5 separate regions of the Homo sapiens genome follow, and all the other regions are linked to region 4. The links are contacts of gene promoters, found by promoter capture Hi-C in blood cells and fetal thymus (Javierre and others, 2016). All regions are on one chromosome and are shown on one strand. Each heading gives the region's core, a stretch centred on a gene start or on the middle of the fragment in contact. The rest is flanking DNA. Distances are from core to core; before and after follow the strand shown. Region 1 overlaps SEPTIN10 (septin 10). Region 2 has its middle 88 kb from the start of SEPTIN10. Region 3 holds the start of SOWAHC (sosondowah ankyrin repeat domain family member C). Region 4 holds the start of EDAR (ectodysplasin A receptor). Region 5 has its middle 100 kb from the start of SEPTIN10.

The links. The method cuts DNA at HindIII sites, captures the fragments that hold promoters and counts their contacts. A CHiCAGO score of 5 or more calls a contact.
Region 1: a contact is called between a fragment that was not itself captured here and the fragment with the promoter of EDAR in region 4, in 4 of 17 cell types (naive CD4 T cells, M2 macrophages, M0 macrophages and 1 more). The highest score is 6.1, in naive CD4 T cells.
Region 2: a fragment that was not itself captured here is called in contact with the fragment with the promoter of EDAR in region 4 in 8 of 17 cell types (non-activated CD4 T cells, M0 macrophages, naive CD4 T cells and 5 more); the score reaches 10.1 in non-activated CD4 T cells.
Region 3: a contact is called between the fragment with the promoter of SOWAHC here and the fragment with the promoter of EDAR in region 4, in 8 of 17 cell types (naive CD4 T cells, fetal thymus, non-activated CD4 T cells and 5 more). The highest score is 10.2, in naive CD4 T cells.
Region 5: a fragment that was not itself captured here is called in contact with the fragment with the promoter of EDAR in region 4 in 15 of 17 cell types (naive CD4 T cells, non-activated CD4 T cells, total CD4 T cells and 12 more); the score reaches 33.5 in naive CD4 T cells.

What each region holds. Positions count from the first base shown.
Region 1 is chr2:109,545,185-109,548,133 of GRCh38, forward strand. SEPTIN10 (septin 10) reads right to left here. Exons shown (of 11, transcript NM_144710.5): 10 at 866-1,053. It also overlaps a transcript of RANBP2 not described here. Among named protein-coding and RNA genes, the nearest start is that of SEPTIN10, 67 kb to the right of the region's middle. The HindIII fragment of the contact is 624 bases long and covers 998-1,621 here.
Region 2 is chr2:109,523,823-109,527,193 of GRCh38, forward strand. It overlaps a transcript of RANBP2 not described here. Among named protein-coding and RNA genes, the nearest start is that of SEPTIN10, 88 kb to the right of the region's middle. The HindIII fragment of the contact is 6,274 bases long and covers 1-3,371 here.
Region 3 is chr2:109,612,545-109,615,614 of GRCh38, forward strand. It overlaps SOWAHC (sosondowah ankyrin repeat domain family member C), which reads left to right and starts at 1,820. Exons shown (of 1, transcript NM_023016.4): 1 at 1,820-3,070. The coding sequence starts at 1,946. It overlaps SEPTIN10 (septin 10), which reads right to left and starts at 1,422. Exons shown (of 11, transcript NM_144710.5): 1 at 1,254-1,422. The coding sequence starts at 1,283. It also overlaps a transcript of RANBP2 not described here. RefSeq lists an enhancer at 312-1,221 and silencers at 1,074-1,163, 1,194-1,443, 1,704-1,873. The HindIII fragment of the contact is 4,568 bases long and covers 91-3,070 here.
Region 4 is chr2:108,987,800-108,990,773 of GRCh38, forward strand. It overlaps EDAR (ectodysplasin A receptor), which reads right to left and starts at 1,421. Exons shown (of 12, transcript NM_022336.4): 1 at 1,161-1,421. It also overlaps a transcript of RANBP2 not described here. RefSeq lists an enhancer at 1-395. The HindIII fragment of the contact is 677 bases long and covers 1,029-1,705 here.
Region 5 is chr2:109,507,621-109,510,679 of GRCh38, forward strand. It overlaps a transcript of RANBP2 not described here. Among named protein-coding and RNA genes, the nearest start is that of SEPTIN10, 100 kb to the right of the region's middle. The HindIII fragment of the contact is 5,398 bases long and covers 1-3,059 here.

The DNA.
Region 1 (2,949 bases), core at 60-2,559, 560 kb after region 4:
TAAACTGAGGCAGAGTCCCCCAAATGAGCATTCTGAATAGAACAAGGCATGATGAATTTCCTCAAGAGCCAAATAGTTAAACCGACAGGGATACTTAAGTGGGAGAAATAAAACAAGGGACACAAAGTACAGAAGGAAATTATCAAAAAGGAAAAATAAACTTATTTTCTAAAACTTGGGTAACTGATTTTAACACATACCCCAAACCTACACGCCTTGCGATTATCATCCACATGCTACTCATGGCTGCCCCCTTGCACTGTGGCCCTCTCTACCTTTCTCTGCGTCTTTACGTCCACCATTGGTTTCACAAGCTCTGACATCAATGCACAGGAGTTCGAATCGACAGCCTGGTTCCCTTATTAAAATAAAAATTCTCACAAAATCAGTATCAGTAGAATTTGTTCTAAAAAACTGAACCTAAGAATTAATTCAATAAAATACTATCTTATGTCTATAATTCCCCAACAAAGGGCACAGCTTTATTTAGACATGAAATTCAAAATAACTCATGGTAGGTCAGCAGCCATTAGCTGTGTACTAGGGCCACGGCTGGGCTATTCAATAAGAGCAGCCATTTTCCCCCAGCTAACTGATCCTTTTCACACTGTGATGTATTTTTATTTTGTTCATTCATTCATTTTGGCAAATACTGAACACATAACATGTGCCAGGTGCTGTTCTGGATGCTGGGGAAACAGCAGTGAACAAGAGGGACAAGGTCTCTCCTCTCCAGGAGCTGACATTTAGTTGGAGAAGGAAGACAAAGCATAAGGAAGCAGAAGTAAGAAGCGCTAGGAAGATCCGACAGGGCAATGTGACAAGTGTGGGCAGGGCTGCCAGGGAGGGTGGCTGGGCCTCTTACTTCTTACGGTCCTTGTCCTTCCTCAGGTTGCTGCCTGTTGCCAGAAAGGACTGGCTGTGAAATATCTCGGAGGTAGCTTTCTTTTTAGAGAAAGCAATTATTTCTTCTTCCAAAAGTCTTCTCTTTTCTTCAAGCTTCATTCTCTCTTCTTGGTGAAGTCTCTTAAGGTGCTCAAATTTGGCCTGTAGCTGGAAACAAAAGTGCAATCCCCACTACTGACACAGCGCGGCAGCAGAGGCACGCTCTCCAGCTCAGCAACACAAAGGCGGACCCCATAGCGCAACACAGAATAACCTACACAGTCAAAATCTTTCTGAAGTCTCAGAAGTTCATAGTTCAAGGAAAAGTTTACATATGGAATTCCCTTGGTAACTTTAATTTAAATGAGTTCCCATGCAAAAATCATAGCTTTATGTACAAAACTATTTTTAAAACATTGTGAACTTTTCCTAGAGTTTTTATTTTCTCGGTGTGTATTTTCCCTACAAAACTTCTTAAAGTCTCTCAAGTCCATGCTCAATAAAAATAAGAGATGCAAAGTATAGAAAGAAATTACCAGAAAGGAAAAAAACAACAACACTATTTTCCAAATAAAATATATGCAGTAAACAGTTATTGAAAACTGTACTAGTAAACATCACTGGAAAGCAAGTGTCAATTGTCAACTATGTCAAGAATGTTAAAACTGTATTCTATTTTTCCATAGTCTTTCAATGTCCTGAGATCTAGGCTTAAAAAAATCCTAAATTCAGAGAAAGCTTTACATATAAAAATACTCATCATAGTAGAATTTACACTATAATAGGAAAAACATTGCCTACATAGCCAATAAAGATAAAGAATAAATTAATGCTAAATACATTTGATGCAGCTGTAGGAGAGCAGAATGTGCAGGACTGTTGAGCTGAGGGCAACTAAGAAGCAGCAGATACAGGAAAGCTCTCTGACCTCCCTTTAGGCGCCTAAAGGCAGGATACAGATGTACAAAGAAAAAAGGTATCCAGCCCCCTTCCCCAACCAGGGAGAACAAAGGTTAACCACCAAAGACAACTTCAGACCCTTTTGGGCCTGGAGACTGGTACCAGACAGCTCTACATTAACTAGCTTTACTGACTAGCCTTCATCTGCCAGCTATGTGCCTTCCTCCAAGTTGCTGCCTCTAGAGACTCCAAGTCCTTTTCCTTTGTCTTGTCATTTCTGTAAAAATTAACTGTTCTTTGTTGAAGATGCTATAGAAGGTAGAATGCAGTCGCCTCTTTGAGAACTACTCATTGACTGTATCACCCCTGTATATGTGAAATATACATGCTAATAAACTTGTTTTTTTTTTTTTTTTTTGGTTAATCTGAAAATAAGGGGTCATTCCAATAAGAACCTATAGGGGTTATTCTTCCCGTATACAACTGTTAAATGAGTTTCAAGAGATTTCTCTTAAGTGAAAAAAGCAGAAGAAAAAATTATTTAAAGAATACAATTCAGCAGTTTTTCACCTCCTTGGGGCTGAAAATCATCTTGATAAACCATATAAAGGGAGCAATGTCACCTTAGATGTCAATTTTGGGGCAGGCCTTTTAATTTATTTTGTTCCACAATTTAAGGAATGCCCTATATGGATCATAGAAGGCATATTTCTCAAAGCTATGAAGGGCATAAAACTCTGGAAACTTACAAATAAAAAGGAAGCTTTAAAACAACTGGGATATACCAAAAGAAAACATCTATCTAACGTTTTTACCATGATGGCTGGCACTGAGTAAGCACTCGATAAATATTAGCCATTGTTAATAACAAAAAATAGGAAACTCAGCTTGCTCCAGCTGCCACCCTGGGTAGTTCTTTCTGTGTCCTGTGCTCTGTTACAGGTGCAAAAGAGAAACCCTTAGCACACATGTGCTGGGGTAACTGTGGGAGCAACGTCTCCCTGAGGATTACTTAGGAGCTATGTCTTTTTCATTTTTATACCCCCAGCACAGCACACAATACTGCTCATAAAAGAATTCTAAAAGATGTAGAAGAACTAGTAATGAGAGGAAATACAGATGAAAGTTATGTGAAGTTCTGCATGCAGTTCAGAGAGACAAGGT
Region 2 (3,371 bases), core at 805-3,304, 540 kb after region 4:
ATGGGCCACCAAGCAGCCTGCGACGGTCTCCCTCTCAGATTTTCCTGTTTGCATCTCAGGGCCATGCTTGTCTGCTCTGACTGCCGTGGTTCCTACCGAGCCAGTGTCTGTAAGGAGCTGTGGTGCACAGCCCTGCCCCATGTAGCTGTCTGCATCACAGCCGCCCACCTGCATCCTTCAGAGTCCTGGGCCACCTCCTGCCTTCCCCGAGGGACAGGAGCAGGGGCTGTTCCATGCACACCTGCCTGGTCTCACCTCCCCAGCCTCACTGGGACTCCGTGGGCCTCCGTTCTGCACATCATGCATAAGGTCAGGGCCTAGTGGCGCAAGAGCAGGACACTCCCTCCATTGCACAAATAAAAACTCAGGCTCAGGGAAGCCACACAGCTTGTCCAAAGGCTCTAGCTGGTAGGGAGGACCTGGGGCTCAGAGGGCAGTTCTCTGACCTCCATCCACTGTAAGGACGGCTCAGTGGTCACACGCTGCCCACTGTCACCTTCTCATGACATGGGGATTTGAATGAGATCATGTGTGTGAAAGCCGGAGTGAAGCAGCCATAACACGCTCTGTGAATATCAGCTCCTGCTAGGGATCTTAGGGTGACAGAGTGGGACCCTGTCTCAAAAAAAAAAAAAAAAAAAAAACAAAACAACACTGGGCGCGATGGCTCACGCCTGTAATCCCAGCGCTTTGGGAGGCCGAGGTAGGCAGATTACTTGAGGCTAGGAGTTCGAGACCAGCCTGGCCAACATGGTGAAACCCTGTCTCTACTAAAAATACAGAAATTAGCCAGGCGTGGTGGAGCATGCCTGTAATTCCAGCTGAGGCAGGAGAATCTCTTGAACCTGGGAGGCAGAGGTTGCAGTGAGCTGAGATCGCGCCACTGCACTCCATCCTGGGTGACAGAGAAAGACTCCATCTCAAAAAATATATAAATAAATAAATAAAAATTAAAATTAAAAAATCTAAAAAGGCCTTCCATTTTTAAATTTTTAAGGGTTTCTAAATGAGAAAGTCCTAATTATAGAATATATAGAAAAGAAGGGAAAAGAATCAAGAAGGAAACAAATGGCACATGGAATTCCCAAGCCCTGGGTTCCTCCTCGGCGCAGATCTTCAGTTATGTTCCTTTCAGCAGGGTCAGGATTCATCCGTCCTCTGCATCTTCACTCAGTGCTTCTGCAGCTGCCTGCTGTCCCCACATCACAGACTAGTTCAACACTTTCCCATGGTGGGCATTTAGGCTCCTTACCGTTGTTTTTTTTTTTTTTTTTGTGGTTATGGATGAGGCTTCAGCAAATATCCCTTGACATCATTTTTGTTTTTGTTTTTGTTTTTTGTTTGGTTTTTGAGACAGAGTCTCACTCTGTCACCCAGGCTGGAGTGCAGTGACGCGGTCTTGGCTCACTGCAACCTCTGCCTCCCGGGTTCGAGAGATTCTTCTGCCTCAGCCTCCTGAGTAGCTGGGACTACAGGCATGTGCCACCACGCCCAGCTAATTTTTTTTGAATTTTTACAAGAAATAGAGACAGGTTTTCACCATCTTGGCCAGGCTGGTCTCGAACTCCTGACCTCAAATGATCTGCCCACCTTGGCCTCCCAAAGTGCTGGGATTACAGGCATGAGCCACCATGCCTGAGGGCTGAAAGTGCTAGTTACCTGCACCCTCACCAGCCGGAGCCCCACAGGCCTACACTCCCCGAGCTGACGCCAACCACAAAGTGGTGGGCTGGTGACGTGAACCCCAGGGCACTGCAGCCATGAGGAGGTCCAGCACCCGGCATTCAGGGCAGGATGGAAACATTCCTGGACAACAACTTGGTCACCATCAGGGTAGCTCAGGACAACCTGCTCGGTGCCCATTTGTTGTAAGATGCCAGAGAGGAGGCTCTCAGTGGCCCTCTGGCCACTGTCCTTACTAGCAAAAGCAGCCTCCTCCCTAAATCATTGATGCGTTTCCTACTTGCACTTCCTACCTGCTGGAGGCCTGTCCTGGATGTGGCTCCGAGTTTCCTCCTCTGTTCAGGTTTTGGGATCTCTCTGGTCCTACCATTGTCATTGGAAGCAGATGGAGGGTAATTTTCTTTGTGCTGCTATTGCTAATTTTCCCAGCTCAGAAGCCTCAGCATTAACAGTCTCTGCAGCCCACTGTGGCCCAGTGAGTGGGGAGGTGGTGTCACCCAGGTTCTGGAGCTGCTCGCAATCCCGAGCACCAGAGCCACCACAACCAGTCACCATCAGGGCCCCTGACACACGCCCACAGGTGACCAGGAATCAGGGCACAGTAAGCACCAGACTAAGTTCCTTATGTCTTTTCACAGATGCTATTTCCCTCTTTTGTCTCTCAGGAAAGCTCATCTGCCACCCTCTGAGACCTCAAATTCGAGGCACAGGCTTCCTTTCTTGGGTTTAAGCCCAGGGCTGCCTGCTGTTGCCTGTGGCCCTGGGCAAGGCACCAGCCTCTCTGAGCCACTCTCACCTCCTTTTTATTTTTTATTTTTTTGAGATGGAGTCTCATTCTGTCGCCCAAGCTGGAGTGCAGTGGTCTGATCTCAGCTCGCTGCAACCTCCACCTCTGGGGTTCAAGCAATTCTCGTGCCTCAGCCTTCCAAGTAGTTAGCTGGGACTACAGGCATGTGCCACCATGCCTTATTTATTTTTGTATTTTTAGTAGAGGCAGGGTTTTGCCATGTTAGCCAGGCTGGTGTCGAACTCCTGACCTCAAGTGATCCACCTGCCTTGGTCTCCCAAAGTGCTCGGATTACAGGTGTGAGCCACCACGCCCGGCTCACCTCCTCTTTGAATGACACCAGAAAGCAGACTTTCTGGAGGCCCAAGGGTGGGAGGAAGTGCACGGATGTGTCTGCCATGCACTCTGGCACAGGGGGCTCACCGATGACAGCTGCAATTGATATTCTCCCCGGCTCTTGGGTCCCCAGATGCACCCTCTCTCCACCCTTGCCTGGGACCACCTCAGCCTGGTGAATTCCTATTCAACCCTCTGGTGGGCTGCTTCCTCTCTAGGAGACCCTCTCTGATGGCCTACAAATGTGTTCTCAGAGATGTGTCTGCCTCAGCCAGCACATGTTCGACTCTAGCACGAGGCTCGAGCCTGCCTGCGTGGGGGCTGGGTATGCACAAGGACTTGGTGTAGTGTCTAATGAGGATAGTGCTTGCCATAAAGCTCACACTTGACAAATTGTGCTTGACCAATTAAATGTCTTAATTTAGCTTATAGAAATAATGGATTTTTACAATAGCTACCAGATGACCCTACACACACACACGTGCACAAATACACATACCTACAAATGTTTACATGTGCAACACCTCACACAAACCCACACGAAGCAGATGTGTGTGCCTGAACC
Region 3 (3,070 bases), core at 570-3,069, 630 kb after region 4:
TCGAAAATAAGTAAAGTTAGCCTCAAAGCAAATTAAGTACAATTAAAAATAAATCTAACATCAGCTAAATGAAGTGTTCTCTTCTGCTCAAGCTTGTTTGGATACGTAATCTATGAATCAAAGAATTTATAAAACACATTTTCCTCACCAGGACCCCTCAATTTTCCCTCACTCACACATGCACACAAACACAGCAACTGAGACAAGGGGGTCCAGACAGAAAATTTGAGATTTTTAAAAAATACGCGATAGAATGAAAAGAGACCTGGGCTGAATCAGGGAGAAAAATCTTTGTCCAGGTTCTATAAAACAAACCAACGGTGTCACTTTGGACGGATCCTCTAATCTCTCAGCCTGCAATCTGAACTGTTTCTACAATTTAAACTTCTCATGTAGGAGGTTGCTTAGTAGAGTGGTTCTCAAACTTTTTGGTCTCCAGCCTCCAAAGAGCTTTTGTTTACACAGATGAAAACCACCAATGTTTACTATCAAAAATTAAAAGGGAGAATTTGTTTTTAAGAATACACAGGCATCGGGCCTCCAAACGGCGGTGAGATCACTCCATACCATGTAGCCTTTGGAAAACTCGATGTACACGACCTTGGTACTATTAACGAAAATAGTTGTAACCACACTTGGAAAACCGCTGGCTTACTAACAAGCGAGATAAATCTACAAAAGTAACTGGAAAGGTTCAAAACAGTGAACAAACGCGTTCTTTTAGAGTACAAAAGAGTCAAGGCGGGAAAAAAACGGTTTAAAATCCCAATGGAGGAAAACTTGGACGACCACACCATCGGATAAAACGGGAGAGCTTTTGAAAAGCCAGGGGAGCCGGGCTTTCTCCCGGCGGCAGGGAGGCTCGGAAGTGCTCACGGCTGCAAAAGATGACCGCTATTCAATCAGTCCGCACTGCGCCTTCAACTCCGTTATAGCCGTAAGAGACCCACAAACACCGCTGTGGATGTAACTTTTGGCAAAGACCGGGAAGTCGTTCAAGAACTCTCCCACCGTCCCGACGCTGGCGCCGCGCCCCGCGAACCGGGGTCCGGCCGCGCCCAGGCTCCGCAGAGGCTCCTCTCCCGCCCCAGGCGCCCGGCCGCCGCGGAAGCCGGGGAGCACTGGGCGGGCGGGGCCGGAGGGGGCGCGGGTCACAATCCCGGGCCGGACCAGGGGGCCGGTGGGTCGAGGGCGGGAAGTCCCGCGGGGGCCGGGGAGCGCGGGGCTGGGGCCCCGGCGTCGGCGGGACTCACCAGGTGCCGCGCCACCTCGGAGGAGGCCATGGTCGCGGGCAGGGGCACGGTGAAGCGGCTGTATCAGCCCGGCCCCGAGCGGCTGGTCCCGGCGACGGCGGCGGGAAGGCCGGAGGGCAGAAGCAACGGGCGGGGCGCGAGGCTAGGCTGCCTCCGCGACGGGGAAGGGACAGGGGCGGGGCCGAGCTGGAGGCCTCCGGGGGCGGGGTTGGGGCGGACGCCCTGTGGTGCGCGCTGAGCGTTTTGCCTGCGCCAAGCGAGCCCCTCACAGGAGCTACCCTCGACGCCTGAGGACTGAGCGTCAGCGTTGGGGCGGGCTGAAGGAGAGCTGGGACTCCAGGAAGACGGCGCGAGGAATGCAGGCGGGAACTGCGGAGCAGTGATTGCGGCCCTCGCGAGGCCGGAAGTGGGCGGGCCTTGAGGCGAGGCCGCCCTAGGTAGGTGTGGCCGAGACAGCGGGGAGCGGAAGTGGGCGTGGCCTGGTGGCGTGGGCGCGGGGCGGGGGTGCGGGGGGCGTGTCCGCCCGGGCGCGGCCCAGTGAGGCGGTGGCCGAGTCCTCTGGCCTCAGACGCGTAGGCTGGCAGCCCGCTGAGCCCGCCAGACTCCGCCGCCGTCGGGAGCCGGCCGCTGGGAGCCCGTCGCTATGGGACCGCGCTGAGCCGCCCGCTGGCGGGGGAGCAGCGCGGTCGAGGATGGAGGGGCCGGCAGAGTGGGGCCCCGAGGCGGCGCTGGGCCCCGAGGCGGTGCTGCGCTTCCTGGCGGAGCGCGGGGGCCGGGCCCTGCACGCCGAGCTGGTGCAGCACTTCAGGGGCGCCCTAGGCGGCGAACCGGAGCAGCGCGCCCGCGCCCGCGCGCACTTCAAGGAGCTGGTGAACGCCGTGGCCACTGTGCGCGTCGATCCCGCCGACGGCGCCAAGTACGTGCACCTCAAGAAGAGGTTCTGTGAAGGGCCGTCCGAGCCCTCCGGGGACCCGCCGCGAATCCAGGTGACCGCCGAGCCCGAGGCCCCCGACGGCCCTGCCGGGCCCGAGGCGCGCGATCGGCTCCCCGACGCGGCGGCCCCGGAGTCGCTCCCTGGACAGGGCCGCGAGCTGGGCGAGGGAGAGCCCCCCGCCCCCGCGCACTGGCCGCCCCTGAGCGCCGGGGCTCGCAGGAAGAACTCGCGGCGCGACGTGCAGCCCCTACCGCGGACTCCAGCCCCGGGGCCCAGCGAGGACCTGGAGCTCCCGCCACATGGCTGCGAGGAGGCGGACAGGGGCAGCTCCCTTGTGGGGGCTACCGCACAGAGGCCGGCCCGCCAGAACCTCCGTGACCTGGTGATGGGCAGCTCCCCGCAGCTGAAGAGGAGCGTGTGTCCCGGGGGCAGCAGCCCGGGCAGCTCCTCCGGGGGAGGACGCGGCAGAGGCGGGGGCGACTCAGACAGCGCATCGGTGGCCTCGTCGTCCGCGGAGGAGGAGAGCAGCGGCGGAGGCTCCGTGACGCTGGACCCCCTGGAGCACGCGTGGATGCTCTCTGCCTCCGATGGCAAGTGGGACAGCCTGGAGGGCTTGCTCACCTGCGAGCCCGGCCTGCTGGTCAAGCGGGACTTCATTACCGGCTTCACTTGCCTGCACTGGGCCGCCAAGCACGGCAGGCAGGAGCTTCTGGCCATGCTAGTCAACTTCGCCAACAAACACCAGCTGCCGGTGAACATCGACGCCAGGACGAGCGGGGGTTACACCGCCCTGCACTTGGCAGCCATGCACGGCCACGTGGAGGTGGTGAAGCTGCTGGTGGGGGCCTACGACGCCGATGTGGACATCAGGGACTACAGTGGG
Region 4 (2,974 bases), core at 171-2,670:
AAGCCTTGACCAGAGTCACTCTCTTTTTGGTGGCCTCTGTCAAAATGTATCTTTAAAGGTTTTAAGTGGCTATGACTTACAAATCTCAGAGTATTAAGCCAGGCAAGAAACATTCTCTATTTTAGATGCCTGGATCCCTTTTTTCCTTCAGTCTATTATGGCTCTTCACTTCTTTGTTACACTTTCACTCTTGCTTAGAAAGTGTCTCAAAAATGCCACTTGAGAGCCACAGAGCAGTGGCCTGGGGACTGGGGAAGAGGACGGTGGTGCTCCTGTCTCTCCGTACGTCTCCTCACATGCGTGTACCCCTGGCTGTGTGGGATTGCCCACTGACCGGCATCTGCCCTGCTTGTTGATTTTAACTGTCCCTCTTGTTGCTGACCCAGCACAACATGGGCAGGGAAACCCAGTGGGAACCTCGCCTGCTGACCTCCCTGCCCAGCCACCCGCTTCTCCCTGAGCTGACATCTCAAAGCTTGGCTGCTGCAGGAGGCTGGGAATCAGAGCCGACTGAATCAGAGCCGACTCCTGTCTAGGAGCCCAACCCACCCCACGGTCTGTCAGAGTGTTGAGAGGAACCTCTTGGCTGGAAATGAAAACCTCAATCATCACAAATAGGTACCCACTCCCCTCCTTCTCTCCCTCTCCCCGCTCCCCCGCCACCAACACAGAGGCCAGGATATGGGGGGTCTCAGACACGACTGGAAACCCCACTTGGAAGGTCTCTTAGGTCACAGCGGGTACGCAGAGTTGGAGGCAGGTACAGAGCCCAGCTAGAGTCCCTGCCGCGCCTGCCTTCCCCAGTGAGCCGGGCACAGGGGCAAACCTGAGAAACATACTTTTCACGCTCCCTGGAGGAACCCGTTGCTTCAGTAGCCCAAATCTTAAAGCCTGTGAAGCACACACAGAATTTGTCTCCCTAACCAAATGTGCAACCAACAGCAAAACAGGGTTTCTGATGTTTTTCTAAAACAAAGGAACAATCTCAGGTCTTAGAACTGGTAGCGCAGACATACTGCAATCGGTAAAGCTTGTTCAAACGCAACCCAAAAATGACATGCATTTCAAAAATGCACCCAGCCTCTCTCCCAGCCCATGACACCTCCGTCTCGGCCACAGCTGAAGAGTTTAGAAAACCAGAGGAAAGGACCAGGGCTTACCTGGCTTCTGTTGGAGGTCAGCTTCAGTCCCAGCAGAAGATGGGTCTATGAAGAAAGTCAGGTACCATCCAGTTCTGGGTGACAGGCTTCACAGGTGGCCACCGTGGCAGCCCTCTCAGAAGCAGGTACTCTATGTCCTTAGGGGCCAGCAGGGCTGCCTGGGACCTGGCACACCTCTCTGACACTAGCCCCGCTTCCTTTCCGTTTAAAGGGCTTCCCGGGAACTCTTCCTTGACCGCTCCCTGCCCTGTCTGCAAGTTTGGAAACTCAGTCCTTGCCGAGGGGCTTTCCCTCATTGCAAACTCACCTGCACCATCTAGAGGTCTCTCCCAGCACTGGAGAGGCTGGAGCGGGCACGTTCAGCCCTGCTGCCATAGGTCCCTGGCACACCTGGCTCTCCGGCCGTCTGCCCCTTAAGAGATCTGTTGGAATGCGTAAAAATCATGGATTTTTTTTTTTGCAGGGGTGGGGGCCTTGCTTCTATCAGAGCCTTTAGGCGTGGGAGTGCTAAAAAGCTAAACTAGCATTAAAATATCATTAATCAAAGCTTGTTCGTAGAAGGACCCCCCACTGAGATGGCTACAGGCATGGGTGCCACTGCACGGATTCAGCTTCCAACATGTCTGTTCACATTCTCACCCATCCCCCGCACATCCCTCAGGGTTTGAGCCACCAGGACTGCTCTTCCTTTCCTCTCTCTGGACACCTCACACCACCAGTGTATACCCATGTAACTTCAGATAACCATACACACCCCCCGTATAACTAGGTAATTAGGAAGCCATTTGAAACATCAACATTTTGAAAGGACATACCTTTCAGTATTGGGCAATTATTTCTCAAAAAGTAAATGATTGGGGGGGGGAAAACAGCCTTAAAATAATGTCATTCTCTTGTCATTTTCTCCCTCATTCACACCTACACAGATAAATACAGGAACAGAGCAGCTCCTCCAGGCTAGATTTCTGTGTTCTCCTTTTCCATCTTGTCCCCTCTGCCTTGGAAACCTACAAGGTAACTCACACATGAGAAAGTAAGAGCTTAAGAAAGAAACAGTCTGGGCTCCGTGGCTCACACCTGTAACCCCAGCACTTTGGAGGCTGAGGCGGGCAGATCACTTGAGGTCAGGAGTTTGGGATCAGCCTGGCCAACATGGTGAAACTCCGTCCCTACTAAAAATACAAAAATTAGGCCGGGCGCGGTGGCTCACGCCTGTAATCCCAGCACTTTGGGAGGCCGAGGCGGGTGGATCATGAGGTCAGGAGATCGAGACCATCCTGGCTAACAAGGTGAAACCCCGTCTCTACTAAAAATACAAAAAATTAGCCGGGCGTGGTGGCGGGCGCCTGTAGTCCCAGCTACTCGGGAGGCTGAGGCAGGAGAATGGCGTGAACCCGGGAAGCGGAGCTTGCAGTGAGCCGAGATTGCGCCACTGCAGTCCGCAGTCCGGCCTGGGTGACAGAGCGAGACTCCGTCTCAAAAAAAAAAAAAAAAAAAAATATACAAAAATTAGCCGGTGGTGGCATGTGTGGAGGCTAAAGCAGGAGAATTGTTCGAACCCAGGAGATGGAAGTTGCAGTGAGCCGAGATTGTGCCACTGCACTCCAGCCTGGGCAACAGAGCGAGAATCTGTCTCAAAACAGAAAAGAAAAGAAAAGAAAAAAGCAGACAGAAATGTATGGGGCTGGGGCAAGGACCTAGACTGTAAAGGACTAATTCTGCCTCCACAGAGATTAAGCTGAACCAGAGTTACTTAGCTGACTTGATCCTTGTGGATGATTAATCTAGATAATATAAGCTCCCAAACAAGAATT
Region 5 (3,059 bases), core at 501-3,000, 520 kb after region 4:
GTGAAAATCCTGGGCTCGGCCCTAAAGCCACACCAGGGTCAGCTGGTGTTTAACATGGTAAGGGTTAAATCCCAGACACCCAAGAAAATGGCAGCAGCTGTTTGTCCAGGGCCCATCATTTGAACCTGCCCCAAAAACCAACTGGAATAAGTCAAAAGAGGACTTCTTGACTCAACTGAAAAGCTGAGGGCAGACAATCAGACGTGTGCAAATGATGGGGCTGGTGTTCCATGAGGACACTTGGCATTCTGCTGGACCTAGGGATGTGGGATATCTTGCAATGTGTACAATCGTCCCACGTGGGCAAAGCCTGTCCTGTCCCAAATGCCAAGAGTGGTGGGTTCACTAAGAAACGCTGGTGTAGATGAGTTTGCTTCAGGCATAGCTGGGTCCAGGTGCTCACATGACGTTTGTGGGTATTGCTGGGCTCTGCTGCCCTCCACGTGGCTCCTTCCTCAGCAGATTTCCCCATCTTACAGCACAATGAGGACCAGCAGGTTCAGGGTGCCATCTGACACCTTCCCCATCCCTGCAAAAATAGGCCTGCTCCTTCTCCATGGGCCCAGCCAAAACCCTGGCATTGACTCTCACTGGCTCCGTTTGGGCCCGTGCTGCCCTCCCTGACTCAGCCATTTTGGACAGGGGACATGTATATACTGATTGATAGCGCCTGAGGTGTCAGCCCTGCCCAGACTTCATGGATTGAGAGTGGGGGTGAGAAGATACACGTAGAGCTATTGGCAAAAACAAAAGGAGCTCATGACCGGGCAGACAAAAACTGCAGACGCACACTCCCCAGGGCCGCTCCTCCAGGACATTGCCCTGGAACCCCATGGCACTGTGCAAAAGCACGCGTCTTCCGAGGGCCACCATACCATATTTAGGAAAATGAGATATAAAAACTGGATCTAAAAGAAGTCCCAGAGGAAACGTCAACAGACGTGGACATCATTACAAATGTGAAGAAAGAACTCTTTATTTGGAAAAAGTAACGTTCTGTAATGTTCCAAAAAAAAAAAATGGAAGCAGATGAAAGCCTGGAGACAGCCAGGAAGTGTCACATGGGACACCCACTCACCACACCCCTCGATGGCCTGGCTTCACCCACTCACTTATCAGATCAGTGAGCAGTCACAGATGAATGTAAGTGCTCAGACAGGGCACCCCAGATAAGGCATGAAAGGAGAGACACAGCTGCCCACCCCAGCCAGAGTTCACATCTGGAGAGGAAGGCAAGCCGTGTGGGTAGTCATGGACTCGGCAGTCTGTGCCTGAGGAGCAAAGGCGCTACAAGCCCGGGACGGGGGGATGCAGTCCACTCCATGATGGGTCCCAGAGCGCTTCCTCTGGACGTTCTTGGCAAGAATACACAACACCAGCACATGAGTCAAGGAGCTCACAACCAGCTTACCCATTCCTGCCGGGAGAAATGGAAGGAAGTGCCCATCCGTCAGGGTCACACAGGACTTGCCTGGGTCTGGGCATCTTCTCTCCACCCCTTCCCACTCTACTCATTCATTCAACAGCTACTTCTGCTCTGGGCCCAGCACCAGGGTCACGGAGATGAATCCAGGCAAGAGGACCCACCTCATGTATTCAGGCCTTCCTGGAGGTCTGCCTGGTGGGGCCCAGCCGCCTGTCAGATTATGCGGTGTTTGGTGCTATGGAAAGAAGTGTGCAAACCCACGTGCCTGTATCAGTCACTTAGGCTGCCATATCAAAATACCATGCACTGCGTGGCTGAAACAACAGAAATATATTCTCTCAAAGTGCTGGAGGCTGGAAGTCCAAGGTTGAAGTTGCAGCAGGGTTGGTTTCCTCTGAGACCTCTCTCCTCGGCTTGCACACCGCCGTCTCCTCACTCTGTCAAGCAGCTGTGGCGGGTCGTCTTGCCCGGATTCATCTCTGTGCGTCTGTATCCAGTGTTCCTCTTCTTTTTAAAATGAATTTGTGTAAATTTATGGGGTGCAATTTTGTTACATGCCATAGTGGTCAAGTCAGGAGTTTTAGTGTATCCATCACCCGAATAACATACATGACATGTCCCCTTTAAGCAATTTCTCATCCTCCACCCCCTGCACCCTCACCCTTCTCACAAGGACACCAGTCAGGCCAGATTAGGCCCACCAATGGACTCATTTTAATTTAATCTCCAAGCAGAGACACACGCTGAGGCACTGGGGGCTAGGACTTCAACATATGAATTTTCGGGGAACATAATTCAGCCCATGTGCCTGTGCTCATGGAGACCAGGTCATAATGAAGTCAAAAGTTAAATTAATCAAAATAACTAGGCGATAGCTACCGGGCAAATACTATAGGGCAAAGTACTAAGGGATCGCAGGAAACTCTTATCTAGTTGGAGAGGTGAGGGGCATGGAGGGCCACTTAGAGGGTGTCCGGGTCTTATCTGGACCTCCACACTGTAGTCTTGTTTAGAAATTCACAAGGCAGGAAGAGGGGAAAGAATGTTCGGTTGGCGGGAACGGTGTGTGTGCACACCCCAACCCGAGGCTGGGGAGAGCTTGGCAGGATCAAGAAACTGAGGGAGCCCAGAGCAGGTGTGGAGGAGAGGGCTGAGGTGAGAATGGCCAGGGGTAGGTCTCTGAGCCTTCCAGGCCAGAAGCAGGAGGCAGTGTTTCCTGGGCTCTCAAGGGGTGTTTAGATGCAAACTGTGTCGGGAGCTCCCTCTGTTGGTGGCACAGGGAATGGCTCGTATGAATGTGGGAAGCTGGCACAGCAGATGCTGGGCAAAGGGCAAGGCGTCTCTGCCAAGGGGGCGGTGAGGGCATGTGGGGGAGCAGACAGCCCCGAGGGTCCTTTGACAAGTCAGTCCGATGTGGAGGCCGAGGGGAAGCCTTCCACATGTCCTAGAGGGAAACCCCGAGGTAGCTCTTCTCACATTTGTGCAGTGACTACCAGACTGAAGGAACCCCGGTTCCATCCTCACCCTCTGCAGCCCAGAGGGCTGATGGGGTCCAGGGCTTCATTTCTGTTCCTAGCCGGGACCAGGGGCTCTGAGCACCCACAGCCCCTTCCCAACAAAACAGCCACTTGTG